Linked DNA regions of Homo sapiens: regions 1, 2, 4 and 5 are each linked to region 3. The links are contacts of gene promoters, found by promoter capture Hi-C in blood cells and fetal thymus (Javierre and others, 2016). All regions are on one chromosome and are shown on one strand. The core of a region is centred on a gene start or on the middle of the fragment in contact, and the rest is flanking DNA. Distances in the headings are between cores, read along the strand shown.

Region 1 (2,700 bases), core at 165-2,664, 800 kb after region 3:
GTAAGCACTCTGGATTTTGTCCATTTTCATCATCATCCAAACTTATCTCAATCCTATAGGTATTAATATATTTAAAAGCCATCACTTCACTAATACAAAAAGAGGAAAACATGTAGTTATGAATATAGCCATTTTCCATAAGCTTCTGTTCTATGAACTTAGAGCTATGAAAACGACACCACTTGAATCCAAGGTATGATGAACTACAAAGACTCCATTCATCAACCATTGCACTACAACCACAATCTAAACTCTCTAGCTCACTTGCTGATAATAGCTCAAGATTTATGAACCTTATACTAGACTGACATGCTCTTTAAACTCCTCTCACTTGAGATTCATAAAATTTAATACAATTTTCCAGAGCTGCTGCTGAAAGCATCAATGATAGATGTTAGTGGTTTTCAAAGTAAAGGCAAAATAGAAAAATAAAACTGCCATTCCACTTGGCTGGTCTTGTTTTAACCTAAGGCTTTGTTTATGCAGTCAGTCTACAGTGATGACACTGAATGAATAATTCAGATCTCAGAGGTGTTTGGTCAGGATATCGTAGAGCCCAGAGAAGATAGGAGTCTGGTTCAGTGGGTTCAAATATGGAACCCCAAATCATGTTCAAAGTACACATTCCAGGTATCACTCTAATTCAATAGTTATGTATTTTAAACATGCTGATTAAAAATACCCTAACAATTCAAACTCTTCAATCCCTTGGTGACTAGTCACTCAGTCTATAGATTAAAATAGTGCATATGTCTGAAGGAAGTATCACCTGTCTCCTTTTGTGTTTTCCAGCCTAATATGAATAACCAATATCCTTTTCTATTTCAGAAGGCTACACTATCTTCCTAACAAAAAAATTTCTGAAAGTGTAGCTTGTGAGGATCTTAGAATTTAAGCTTCATCCCTTTGGCTTTTCATGGTGATTTCTTTTTGAGGTCCATTATAACTCAAGTACTCATCAAAAAGATCTTTATAACAGAACACTGGTTAGGAGTAGTCTGGATTAAGATATATTCACAGATCCATGAATAGGAAAATTAAATAAAAATCTGTCAAAAAGTAGACCTTGAACACACTATGTTTATGTGATTTTTAAGACATAAACAAAAAATGCAAAAAAAAATTTCTCATTTCCAGTAAATTAAGGTATAGAATACAAAAAAAAAAAAAAAAAAAAAAGAGCTGGAAGGGCTTACAAGTTCCATAGTGCCCTTCTAATTCTCTGAGACCTGACGTCAAAGTTTTATGCACAGATTGATACTCATTTTCAAAAATGTCCTGGATTTCCTCTAAAGTTTATAGTAACTAATTTCAGAGCAAAACTTTTTTATTTATAACAAATTTTCTTAAGTCTAGCCAAAAACCTTCTGGATGTATTCACACAGGGCCACCACACTGTACTACTGACATAGTAGTCTAGGTGAAGGGTGCTCCCAGAGTTGTGTTGTATACCACCTGTACAGCTGTATGCAGCAGCCCTGATTTACTCTACCTTCAATGAAGAAGAAAACCAACTGATCAGGAGAGAAAATAGCTCATTGTCATCATGTGAACATCTTTTAAATTTAGAATGATTCTTTTTTTTCTTCTTCTGGTTAAACAATTATAATTACTTTGCATTTTCTGATAGGTACAACACTCCAGACCTTTCAAATGTTTTAAACTATTCACCTTGGCACCTTATCTTTGAGACTTTTTGTTTAACGTGTTAAAAAATAAGAAGACAGAACAGGAAATGAGTAACCTTGATTAATTATACCCTGACCAATTACCTCTGCTTCTGCCATCCAGTTGCTGTCCTTTTGAATTGTGCCAATGGACATCTTCATAGTGACTGGCTGTGAGAAGACACTCAATTGAAACGCTAGTTCCCTCTTTGGCTATGATGACATCATCATCCGAGTGGGAACTTGCTGAGAGTTCAAAGCTTGAGGGAAAGGATGCATTGTAAGAACTACGATTTGCTTCCAGTGAAACCATTTGGTCGAAGTCCACATCTTCCAAAACAAAAGCAGCTGGCACAATAATACTTGCCACTAAAGTGAATAAGCAACAATGTAGCTTCATGGGAAAATGGGACAAAATCTTGTTTAGATTTGGAGAACTCAAAAACTTCTACACTACAACAAAAGCACAGCGGGTAATTTATTGCTTGGTAGAGAAATTTTCCAAACAAGTGGTAGATCCAGTTATATTTTCTAGTCTTCAAGATTAAAAGATGTGAGTAGAGAACCTAAAAGAAAGCCAGATACAAAGTTTAACCAACTGAGATTCATAATGGGGTGAAAGTGCGTATGTTCCAGAATGAATAGATGTTAATTAGAATAATTGGTGCTGACATTGGGGAGTAATTAGATGGAACAGTACCTAAAAATCTCACACAGAGACAGCAGAAAAAGCAATGAATTGGTAAATAGCAGACCTAGATTTTGGTCCTAGCTTTGCCACTAACTAGCTGTACGACCTTGGCAAGCAGCATTCTCTCTGGGTTTCTGTTTTCTCCTCTGTCAAATAAGGGACTGGATGAGATAATCTCTAAGGACTCTTCCAATTCTGAAATGCCATGATTCTATTTCATTCTGACAAATTTTATGCAACAGGGAGCCAATGAAGGCTAAAATATTTATCTTAATGATCTTTTATTTCAACCTGCACCATTACCATCTGTTGTTATAATGTAAATCAACTGGCATATCATAA
Region 2 (2,700 bases), core at 38-2,537, 840 kb after region 3:
AGCACAGCACAGGGTTTGGACTGGGAGTAGGAAGACTAAGGTTTGACTACTAATCTTTGCTATGCAGTCTTGGGGAAGTCACTTAATGTCTTCAAGCCTTTATCACTTCATCTCTAACATGGAATAATGGCACTTTTCTCTCAAGCCCATTGAAGCATTTATTGATATACGTAAAAGGATTCTATAAGCACTAAAGCACCATGCTCATGTACATTACTGCTGCTACTATTGTTATTACTACTACTGTCACTGCTATTACCACTCCTCTCCTCTTCCTCCTCGCCTGCCACCTCATGATCCTCAGCAGTCTTTCTGGAGTGTTTTATATGGGACTTGGTTTTTTAGGGGATGAAGATTTTACCAAGGACATAACAGAGCTGTTTTCCCAGCTGCACGTTTCCTCCAAACCAGAGAAACTTGCCAGGGTAAGTTATTGCTTCTTGGTGATTTTCATTATTTTACTTGTAAAAATGTAGTGGATAAAGAGCATAAGATTATAAATTCCTGGCAGAGGTGTCACCAAAATCGAAGGTATATTCTCGTTATACCCAGAATTGGGTTCTGCATCTACTTGCCTTCTGCTCCTCCAGGTTAGTGTGTTGAAGCCACATCTGCCCCACAACACGTGTCCCATCCTTACCTGTTTTCATTTGGGATGCTTTGCTTATCTGAAAGCTTAATTTAGTCTACAATGTTGGTCATTAAAAGTTGGCAGTGATGACCAGCCTCATGATTCCAGTGGGTGAGCCTCTGTCGAGGACTCACTGTTCTCAGGGATCTGAATGATTTAGAGATGATATGTGGCCTTGCCCATAGGGATTAGAGGTTGTCATTACCCAGAGCCCAGTGACTCAGATAATGACTATTTGGCGTGTGGAAATGAGAGAGTATTATGACCAAGGCCCTTATTTTTGGTGCTGATTCTGGAACTATTTTCTTATATTTGGAATGTGGAGAGACTTTAATCAAAGCTCAGAGTGGGTAGGGAGGTTCTGTGGCAAGTATAAGCCAGTGCCTGCTCTTGGGACACTGTTCACTGGGTCATGGATTGCTTGCTACCTCTTTACCCACCTCTACCAATCTTGAGAAGCATTTCAGGACCAGTCAGCTGCAGGTGCACATTGTTTCCTGGCCAGGGAGAGGTGAGAGCTATTGCATAGTCAACCCAGTCACCTTGTCTCCATCCCCCAGGGCAAAAACTATGATGTTTGGTGTGTTATCCCACTCTCCTATGCCCATCGAAAATGCTGCATTCTCTGAAAAAGCTCTTTTAGATCATCCCCAGGCAGCTCATCTCCCTCACCTCTACTGTAACACTTTACTAAAGCACTTTTGATCTTATAGTGCTTTTTATTTTGGAAATAATATCAAACTTAGAGAAAAGTTACAAGAGTAGCACAAACAATATTTGTATACCTTTTATGCAAATCCAGTACTGTTAATACTTACTTCATTTGCTCAAACATTTGTGCTTTCACATGTGTTCTTTCTCTGTGTAAATACATGTATACATATATAGATAAACACTTTATTTTTGTAACTATTTGAGAGTAAATTGTAAACATTATTGCTCTTCTAAATGTTTCAGTATGTGTCTGCTAAGGATAGGGATATTCCCTTACATAACCACAGTGTAGCTATCAACTTCAGTAAATTTAACATTAGTACTTTTGTTGTACTAATTTGTTGTAATCTATTTTCCATATTTCAGTTACATCAGTTGACCCAATAATGTCCAATAATACCAAACTTTTTCCTCTACCACTGGAGCCAGTACATGATCACAGATTGTATTTAGTTGCCATGTACTTTTAGTTTCCTTTAATCTAAAATAGTTCTTCAGTCTTTTTTTGTCTTTTTGTCTTTTATGACGTTGGTGTTTTTGAAAAACAAGCTTTGGAGTTTCTCTAATGCTTTCTCATGATTAATGTCAGTTTATACATTCCTGGCCAAAATACTCCATAAGTGATGGTGTGTCCTGCCCAGGGTATCACATCTAAAGGTACATGATATCCATCTGCCCCTTATTGGTGATGTGTTGTCTGATTTTGTTCTGTACAGTTAAAGTTTATTTTCCTATCTTGCTAATAAACTTTCTGTGAGGAGATACTGTAAGACCATACAAATATCCTGCTATTCATCATAATTTCTCTTCTAAATCTAGCATTTATTTATGATTCTGGCACCAATATTTAATGTGAAGATTTACCAGTTGGCTTTCAGCATTCTAGAATAGTCATGACCTCTCCTTTCTCCCCCATTTTGTTCTTTTTTTAATTTGTTATCAGTATGCTTTCATGGAGTTCTGCTTTTCCCCCATTGGCTTGTAATTCATCACTGTCCTTAATTATTTTGATGTTCAAATTTGTCTTTCAAGCTGGCTCCTAGGTGGCATGCCTCCATCATTTTTGGGTGCTTCCTTATTTTCTGGCATAACAAGATATTCTAGACTCATCTTATGCCTTCTGTGCCCCAGCCCTGCAACCAGACATTTCTTTGAGAAAGCATGATTCATTCCCTTTTGGTTTTATAGACCAAGACATGAGTACTAAGTGTACTCATTGCCACTGGCATGGCTTTGATTCTAGGCTGTCAGCAGAGCTGGAAAATATACTCAGGTACATATACACCTATATGTGTTATGTTTGTAGATACATATGTGCACGTGTACACCTATATGTATTTTAGAAATCATGACTT
Region 3 (2,700 bases), core at 82-2,581:
GATTACAGGCATGAGCCACTGCACCCGGCATTTTTTATTTTGTTTTGTTTTTTAGAGACAGGGTCCCACTCTGTCACTCAGGTTGGAGTGCAGGGCACAATCATAGCTCACTGCAGCCTCCAACTCCTGGGCTCAAGCCATCCTCCCACCTCAGCCTCCCCAGTAGCTGGGATAACAGACATGTGCCAGTAAGCTCTACTAATTTTTTGTATATGTAGTAGAAATGGGGTTTTGCTACATTGCCCAGGCTGGTCTTGAACTCCTGGCCTCAAGTGATCCTCCCGTCTTGGTCTTCCAAAGTGCTGAGATTATACATGTGAGCCGCCGTGCCCAGCCAAGTTTCTGAGTTTTGTTTATTTTAGAAAGGAGTCTTCCTGTGCTGCCCAGGCTGGTCTCAAATACCTGGGCTCAAGTGATCCTCCAACCTCAGCCTCCCAAATAGTTGGGACTACAGGTGAGCACCACCATGCCTAGCCAATCTCCATGTTTGATTGTTAAGTGGAAAAAGCAAGGTGCACAACAAACATACTATGGTGCTGTTGCTAAAGGAGAAGCACAAGGCCTACACATGTTTCTATTTACAGAGGTAAGCTCTGGAAGGATATACAAAAATCTGGTCACAGAGGTTGTCTCTTGGGAGGAAAAAAAGGGGACTGAGGAGAAATTAAAAAAAGACTTTTCATTGTACATTCTTTTGACCCTATTGTATTTTATATCATTTGCACATTTGCTTATTTAAAAAGTTTTCAGAAATTTAAAAGCAGCTCTTTTTCCAAAGTGCTCCTCACTTCATGTCATGGGTCCTGTATCCTAAGTTCCCCTATTTCAATCACAGTGCAAATTTACCCTCCACAGGCATGCCTTTCCTGCATCTAGACTCACTAGAAATAGCTGATGCATCTCTCCTCCCTTGCCTGCCCTCCACAGGAAAAGAAGCAATGAAAAAAAAGAAAATGAGATCCTCTGGTCTCTGTCACCTTTTTATCAACTTGTACTACCTGCCATTATCTGACACCCACATCTTTTCTTGAATCTGCCTCCTCCTATGGGACAGCGACATTTTCTTAAGTTGCAGATGATGGAGAAAATTTTTTAAAAGAAAAAAAGGGGGCAGGGGGAGGGAAGCCCAGAGTTTGGCCAAATGCACGTTTTTCAAGTTCCTGCTTGAGCTTAGATTCCCTTTCCGCTTTAAGGACATGCCCTCTGGAAAGAAGGGTGTTTTGTTTCCAGCCCACACAGACCCAAACTTTTTTCATCACGTGCCTGGTCCGAGCCAGTACGCAGCTCTGTAATGAGATCACCATGGCCAGCCTCCCACCCGAGCAAAAACAAGGTTAGCCTGCAGCAGAGCCGCAGCAGCAACAGCCACCAAAGCGGGGGCTGAAAGGGAAGAGAACTTAGATTTGACCTGTGCAAGGACCTCAGCAGCTTGGACACAGCCCACTGCAGAGGTAAGTGGGAACTACGGGGGAGGGGTGGTGTTTGCAAAGGTCAGGACATGTCCAGGTTCACTTAAAGTAAGGGCAAAACAACACTCTTCCCACCTCTGCCACCACCCTGTCCTCTCTACTTATGGCAGGGTTAGATTTGCCTCTAAACAGGGTTAGATGGCAGGGTTAGAATTTGTCCTAGGACATTGCTGTAGTGCAGTCGCCTCCTTGTCTCTTACTAATGTCTGTATCCTCTGCCTGTGTTTGTACCATCTACCTCCTCAGTAGTCTAATTTTTCTAGCAATTGACAGGTGATTGTAATGGACAAGTAATTGTTTGACTTTAAAACCATTTGTAAAGGAGCAACTCCTAATTCAGAACTCAAATGAGAGGCAGAACAAACTGGAAGAGACTGTTGGGAAGCAACTGCTGCCTAATTGCTTCTCATCTCTACTCTGCCATCACCAGGAAGGTATGGGGCAAAATACAACAGTTTTAAAGTCTCTGGATAGATGTGTGGGCTATGAGCTAGACAAGTAGGTTGAAACTGTTTTGATGCAACATACTTGGATTTACCAACAGTGGCTCCAGTTGTGAAATCGTTAGTGGCTTGATAGTACCTATGGAAACACTCCACGAAGGTTATTGAGTAAAGGGCATACAGTAAAGTGTGTAGGTGGAGATGAACAATAGAACAGTGGCTTTCAGGACCTTCTGGGGCTTAAGGCAAGCAAGACAAGATGCTGATTTGTGGGTTGCTTCAGTTTCATGTGCAATTCCAATTAAATTTCTTTGAGTGGGATATACAGATTCAATTCAATTTGCTAAAACACAGATGCACTGAGCATCAGCTTCTAACTTTAGTTACGAAAGTAATTAGCACAAGGGAATGGTGCTAAAATGTTCCATAGCAAATGTTGAACACTTTTTGAGGGCAAAAAGCAATGCTTTTGATTCGTGTATCTCTTATTTATTCGGCAAATCTTTCTTGAGTATCTTCTACATGCCAGGCTTGGGCTTGATTCTGTGGATCTCGTGGTAAACAAGACAGGCAGATTCTCGGCCTCATGGACATGCAATCAAGCAGAACAGTAAGCTCAAAGGGTGCAAGTACCATGCAGCAAAAGGAGTGAAGAGAGTATTACTAAAACTGGCCCATGGGAATCATTTTTAACCTTTCCTTTCATGCATTTCATCTTCTGTTTTTGTTTTTTTTGTTTTTTGAGATGGAATCTCGTTCTGTCACCCAGGCTGGAGTACAGTGGCGCG
Region 4 (2,700 bases), core at 34-2,533, 770 kb after region 3:
ATTTCAGTTTCTTAATCTATACTATAAAGTGTAATAAAATTAATAAATGATGATGATAACTCCTTCTCAGGATTGATGTGGGGTAAAAGAACTAAATATAGCAGATTAATAGGATAAGTTATTGCACCTGGCCTATCCTGGGCATCCTCTACCCCACAACTTTTTTTAAATGTGAGAAGAATGGGGTTTTCCACTCTTGCTGCTTCTAGTCAGGTTACTTTTCATATAGGCTTGGCATCCATTTGCAGTGCTGCACCTTGTAATTTTTCATAAAAATCCTTCTCTTTTTTTTTCCCCAGCCATCATGAGGTATGGCCACAGCTGTCTCTGGGTGAGCAGACACAGAGCCCTCCAAAGGGAGAGAAAACCCATCAGAAGGCCTGCTGGGCCCAGGTGGAATCGCTGTGAATGAGGACATGTCAAAGAACTTATCTTTCTCCTGTAAACACCTTGGACCAACCCAGACCTGTTTAATTTCTAGGCAAGAAGCACAAATTGAATCCTGCACTACATGCATTTATCTCCTCACCTTTTTCGGCAGGAATCTAGATAGGAATTAATAGACTCACTCAAAGAGGAAAAGACATAGTGGGTGCAGTGGAGTCCTTTGTCTTTACGGGGCTTGAAAGGGTGGATCTCTAACACGTCTCATTTAATATTGGCTCGAGTTAAAGTATAGTAAATTCCAGGCCAAGAAGAAGAAACTAGGATGCCACAGAATGTTAGAGATAATTTAATTTAAACTCCTTACTCAATAGATAGAGAATCTGAGCTCAGGGAGGGGACAATCTGTCCACAGCCATATACCAAACTGCTGCTGGCTGGGCTGAGGGCTACGACACCTTACTCCTGGGCCAGTGCTCTGGGCAGGGCTTCCTATCTCTGTCATTCATTTCTTTTTTTTTTTTTTCTTTTTTTGAAATGGAGTCTTGCTCTGTTGCCCAGGTTATAGTGCAGTGGCACGATCTCAGCTCACTGCAACCTCTGCCTCCTGAGTTCAAGCAATTCTCTTGCTTCAGCCTCCTGAGTAGCTGGGATTACAAGTGTGCGCCACCACACTCAGCTAATTTTTGTATTGTTAATAGAGATGGGGTTTCACCATGTTGGCCAGGCTGGTTTTGGGCTCCTGACCTCAAGTGATCCTCCTGCCTCAGCCTCCCAAAGTGCTGGGATTACAGGCATGAGCCACTGCGCCTGGTCTCTGTCATTCATTTCTGTACCACGGTCATGATTTGTGTCATATTTACACACCCTCGGCACCATTATTAACATGGTCTTAATATCTGAATCGACTGTATTTTTTTATCCTTAAATAAATTTCTTTTGAAAGGAAATTGCTGTGAAGAGAAAACAAGGATTGTTTTCCACAAATAAAAGGTGACCACAAAAAATACATGCTATGAAATGAAGCAATACATTTTAAATATATTAAATTTTAAATATAATTTAAAATTTAAGTTTAAAAGTTTAATTTAGAAGTTAAATTTTAGCAAGGTACTGCTGTGTGTGAAAAGACTGTTCACTCTCTCTGTTAAAAGGGAGATTTGTCATGTTAAAGTGAACTTGAAAGGGAATGGCTTTCTCACCATAGGAGAGGATGTTTCTTAATAAGGTGTTTATGAACCATCTAAAATTGTCTCTCATATCATGAGTGGTCAAGTTGATCAGGAAAGAAAATGTGTTTGCAAACTTCCAAGGAAATGTAATACTTGACACTACTTGGGTTAGAATCCCAACTGTGCCATTTACCAGCCACTGGATCTCCAGCAAGTTATTTAACCTCTTTCTGTCTGTTTCCTTACTCATAAAATAGGAATAATTGTGTATATCATGGATTTATTGCAAGTACAAATAAGATATACATATAAAGCCATAGAACGGCACTCAGCATAGAGTAAGCACTCAGCACCACGTATTCTTGTAATTATCATTATTAAAACTTAAAGTGGTATTATGCCCTAGAGCAGGGTTGCAACCTTTTTCTGTAGAGGGTCAGATAGCACATTATTTTACCCTTTGCAGTCCATACAGTTTCTGTTGCAACAATTCAATCTTCCATAGTTCCAAGGAAGCAGACATATTGCATACATATATTAATGGGCATAGCTCTGCTCCAGTAAAACGCTACCAGAATAGGTGGCAGGATGGTTTTGGCTGGTGGGCCATGGTTTATGCTACAGGGATATAGTTATGTAAAACAAAAAACAGGCCAGATGCTTTGTACACTATTTTCGAATGAGGTAGCGTCATACTTCATACCTTAGCCCAAATCCCAATCTTTTGAATTCAATCCCATGCACCTGAAACGTAGGTTCTAGTCCAGAAACTTTGGTCTCACTACCTGCTATCATCTTAACTGCTGCCCAAATGGCCATGAGACTAAACAGCTCTTGAACTTGAAGCAGAATAAAGGTTAAAAGCATGGGCTTGGGAATTAGAATGACTTGGGTTTGCTGCTCACCCTGCAAAGGGTATTATTTTCTTTTTACACAGGAGGAAATTGCAGCTCAGTGGGGTGGAGTAATTTGCCCAATGTCACATAGCCAGCAAATTGACATCAGTTCCACAAACATGAAATTTGGTTCTAATCCAAAAACCCTGGGGCCAGCTGCATGTCATCATGATGCTTCCTTTTCTTGTTTCTAATTTCCATGATAAAGAGGGGGAGAGCTTGAGAAGGATTTAGAGTGGGAAATAATG
Region 5 (2,700 bases), core at 102-2,601, 650 kb after region 3:
GCTGGATTGGAATCCTGTTTCCATCACTTCCTAGCTGCGTGGCCCTGGATATGTTACCTGACCTCTCTGTACCTCAATCCTCACAACTGTTATTTAATTTCATCTAATCATCACCATGACACTAGGAAGTAGTGATGACTTTGCTCATTTTAGGAGAAGGAGCAGGAAGCCCCAGAGGTCAGGCACAGAGCCAGCAAGTGGCAGAGCTGGGCCTGAGGATCAGGTCACATTGGTTCCCAACTCCACACTCTCTCCTCTGCTCTCTCCAGTACAAGGGAGAGGTTTACAGGGTCTCCACAATACTAACCCTTCCCAAGAGACCCCCTAGTTCAGCCCAACACCCACGTAGAGGCACCTACCTCATCCTTGCCCATGGCAGGAAGGCAGAGCACGCATCCTGGAAGAGCAGCAGACTGTGGGCATCAAAGGAAAATAAAGCTCTACCGCCCCAGCCAATCCTCGCAGCCCACAGGAGAGGGATTCCAAAGTGCACCTCCCATCCCTGTCCTGAACTGGAGCCTGATCTGCTTGCATCAGATACAGTGCCACTGCTAAAAGTACCACAGAGCTCCCCTGTGGGTGCTGATTGACAACTTGGGAAGCTGCAGATAAACACACTTCCCAGGAACAGAAGTTCAAGGGCGGGTCCTGAAGCACTCCTGGGGAGAATGGAGTGGGTCCCTGGGGAAAGAGAGGTCTGTCTCCTGTCAGGTGGGTGGAGAGGAGTTCCCTGTTGGACCCTCAGTAGGATTTGTTAAATATGTGATCCTTGGCCAAGCCCAAACCAGCCCCTTCATGCTCTTTGGGCATGGATCCTGGTGTCACCATCCTTAACAGGCTCCCTAGGGATTGTGAAGCACCCTGAAGTTCAAGAAGAACCATTCCTAAGGCTAAGCTTCCAGCATGCAGCCAGCAGTTACTGAGTACCAACCATATGATTCACTTACTCACTCACCCCCTCAGCCATTCAGCAAATATTTTAGGCAAACAAGAGTGACCAAGAGAGAGGTTAGTTCCTGCCTTTAGGAAGCAGACAGTCTGGACAGATTAAAAACAATTACAGCATTGCGTGACAGATTTATATACAGGTCTCCGGGCCCTGGTTGGGAAGAATGCTAACCTAGGCTGCCCTGGCAGGAGTTAGTCAGGTCTAGGGGCAAGGCTGCAGGGAAGAAGGATGTTAGAAATCTTCTAGAGGGCCTCTGATCTAAGTAGGCAGATGAGAAAATCAAGGCTCAGAGGAGCTAAGACCCTTGAGTGACCCCTGGGGGCTGGAGTAACCAAAGAACACTTCCTGGAGGCAGCAGGCTATGAGCTGAATCTAGAAGGATACAGAGGGTCTGGGTTGTCCCAGGGTGGGAGTTGAGAAGGCATCCCCAACAATTGCTTCGCATTCCGAAGTTTCAGGAAGAGGGGTACCAAGAGCAGCCTCTGCATGCACAATTTCCTTCCCACCTCCAATAATCAGAGACTGCACCCACCTGGCTTCTTCCAGTTCTTCTGAACCCTGTGCTGTTAAGCCAACCACTTATCTTCGAATTGCTCACCTTCTAGACAAAGACAATGTTATGCAGCCCTCCCTACCTCCGCCAAAGGGAAGCCACAGAGAATTGAGTCCCTGCCATAGGCGAGGCACTTCACAAAGGCAGCGGCATCACCATGTTTACCAAGCACTTGTTCTGTACCAAGCATTGTGTTTGGGGTTTTACCCACAGTGACTCACTGAACCCTCAAGAGAACTCTCTGCCACAGTTAACATTACTACCATTTTACAGACCAAGAATTCCAGGCACACAGGTCAAGCTTGCCCAAGCCTCGGGTTTTGAATCAGGCAGTGTAGCTCCAAAGCTAGAGCACTATACGCAGCCCCACATGCCTCAAACCAAGAGGAACGGAGACAGGAGGAGGCTGAGGTAGAGGTTTCTCTTCCAGCACACACCACCACCACATGACCTTATGTGCTCCACTTCAGCTACTGAAGAGGCTGTCTTAGGGCAATGGTCCCTCTCACCTGCTCAGATGTCCAGGCTTGCAGGAAGGGCTTAACGGGCAGGGGTGGAAGACAGGTCCTTTGTCCTGCTCAGATATGGAGGAAGTATGGTGGTTAAGGACTCAGCACTAGGTCAGAGTTCAAATACCAGCTCCACCACTACAGGCTGTGCATCCTTGGGCAAGCACCTGCCCCTCTTCGAGCTTCAGTTCCCTCCTTCTTTCCTACCTGGTTACAACAATATTTAACAGATGTACAGGTAAAGGACCTAGCAGAGTAAGTGCTAAATAAATGGTAACTGCTATTACTACTATTAACATTATCAACCTCATTATCAGCCATATCATCATCATTCTTTGGATCAGTATCATTTTATGCTGTGGCTTTCATCACCTGAGAAAACTGAAGACAATTTAACATCTGAAGCTCAGCATTCTCTTAAAGCCATAGGGAAGGAAAAAAATAGGCCTGCTTTTTTCTTTTCTCTCCTATCTACACTCAGCAGAGGGCAGCAAACAGGAACCATTCAAAGATAAGAGGGAGAGAAGAGAGACACATGGAGAGAAAGCTACACACGCATAAATACACACCCACCCACCACAGCAAGCAGAATTGTTTAGCTTCCTCTAGCTTCCAAAGTATGAACACTCCACCTCCTCCAGCTAAGAGGGCCAGGCAGAAAAAACGTGGAAGCTGCAGAGACAGAAGTT

Evidence for each region. The method cuts DNA at HindIII sites, captures the fragments that hold promoters and counts their contacts. A CHiCAGO score of 5 or more calls a contact.
Region 1: a fragment that was not itself captured here is called in contact with the fragment with the promoter of FAXDC2 in region 3 in 5 of 17 cell types (M1 macrophages, activated CD4 T cells, naive CD8 T cells and 2 more); the score reaches 9.0 in M1 macrophages.
Region 2: a fragment that was not itself captured here is called in contact with the fragment with the promoter of FAXDC2 in region 3 in 6 of 17 cell types (total B cells, naive CD8 T cells, activated CD4 T cells and 3 more); the score reaches 6.8 in total B cells.
Region 4: a fragment that was not itself captured here is called in contact with the fragment with the promoter of FAXDC2 in region 3 in 1 of 17 cell types (neutrophils); the score reaches 6.9 in neutrophils.
Region 5: a fragment that was not itself captured here is called in contact with the fragment with the promoter of FAXDC2 in region 3 in 1 of 17 cell types (activated CD4 T cells); the score reaches 6.3 in activated CD4 T cells.

Annotation. Positions count from the first base shown.
Region 1 is chr5:154,049,090-154,051,789 of GRCh38, reverse strand. MFAP3 (microfibril associated protein 3) reads right to left here. Exons shown (of 3, transcript NM_005927.5): 2 at 1,773-2,233. The coding sequence starts at 2,067. Among named protein-coding and RNA genes, the nearest start is that of MFAP3, 11 kb to the right of the region's middle. The HindIII fragment of the contact is 1,031 bases long and covers 899-1,929 here.
Region 2 is chr5:154,008,966-154,011,665 of GRCh38, reverse strand. It overlaps FAM114A2 (family with sequence similarity 114 member A2), which reads left to right. Exons shown (of 14, transcript NM_018691.4): 9 at 346-425. Among named protein-coding and RNA genes, the nearest start is that of FAM114A2, 29 kb to the left of the region's middle. The HindIII fragment of the contact is 1,219 bases long and covers 678-1,896 here.
Region 3 is chr5:154,849,234-154,851,933 of GRCh38, reverse strand. It overlaps FAXDC2 (fatty acid hydroxylase domain containing 2), which reads left to right and starts at 1,331. Exons shown (of 9, transcript NM_032385.5): 1 at 1,331-1,451. The HindIII fragment of the contact is 21,500 bases long and covers 1-2,700 here.
Region 4 is chr5:154,078,401-154,081,100 of GRCh38, reverse strand. No RefSeq gene overlaps it. Among named protein-coding and RNA genes, the nearest start is that of MFAP3, 41 kb to the right of the region's middle. The HindIII fragment of the contact is 5,875 bases long and covers 1-2,700 here.
Region 5 is chr5:154,197,328-154,200,027 of GRCh38, reverse strand. All of the region lies in intron 1 of GALNT10 (polypeptide N-acetylgalactosaminyltransferase 10), which reads right to left. Among named protein-coding and RNA genes, the nearest start is that of GALNT10, 7.9 kb to the right of the region's middle. The HindIII fragment of the contact is 908 bases long and covers 898-1,805 here.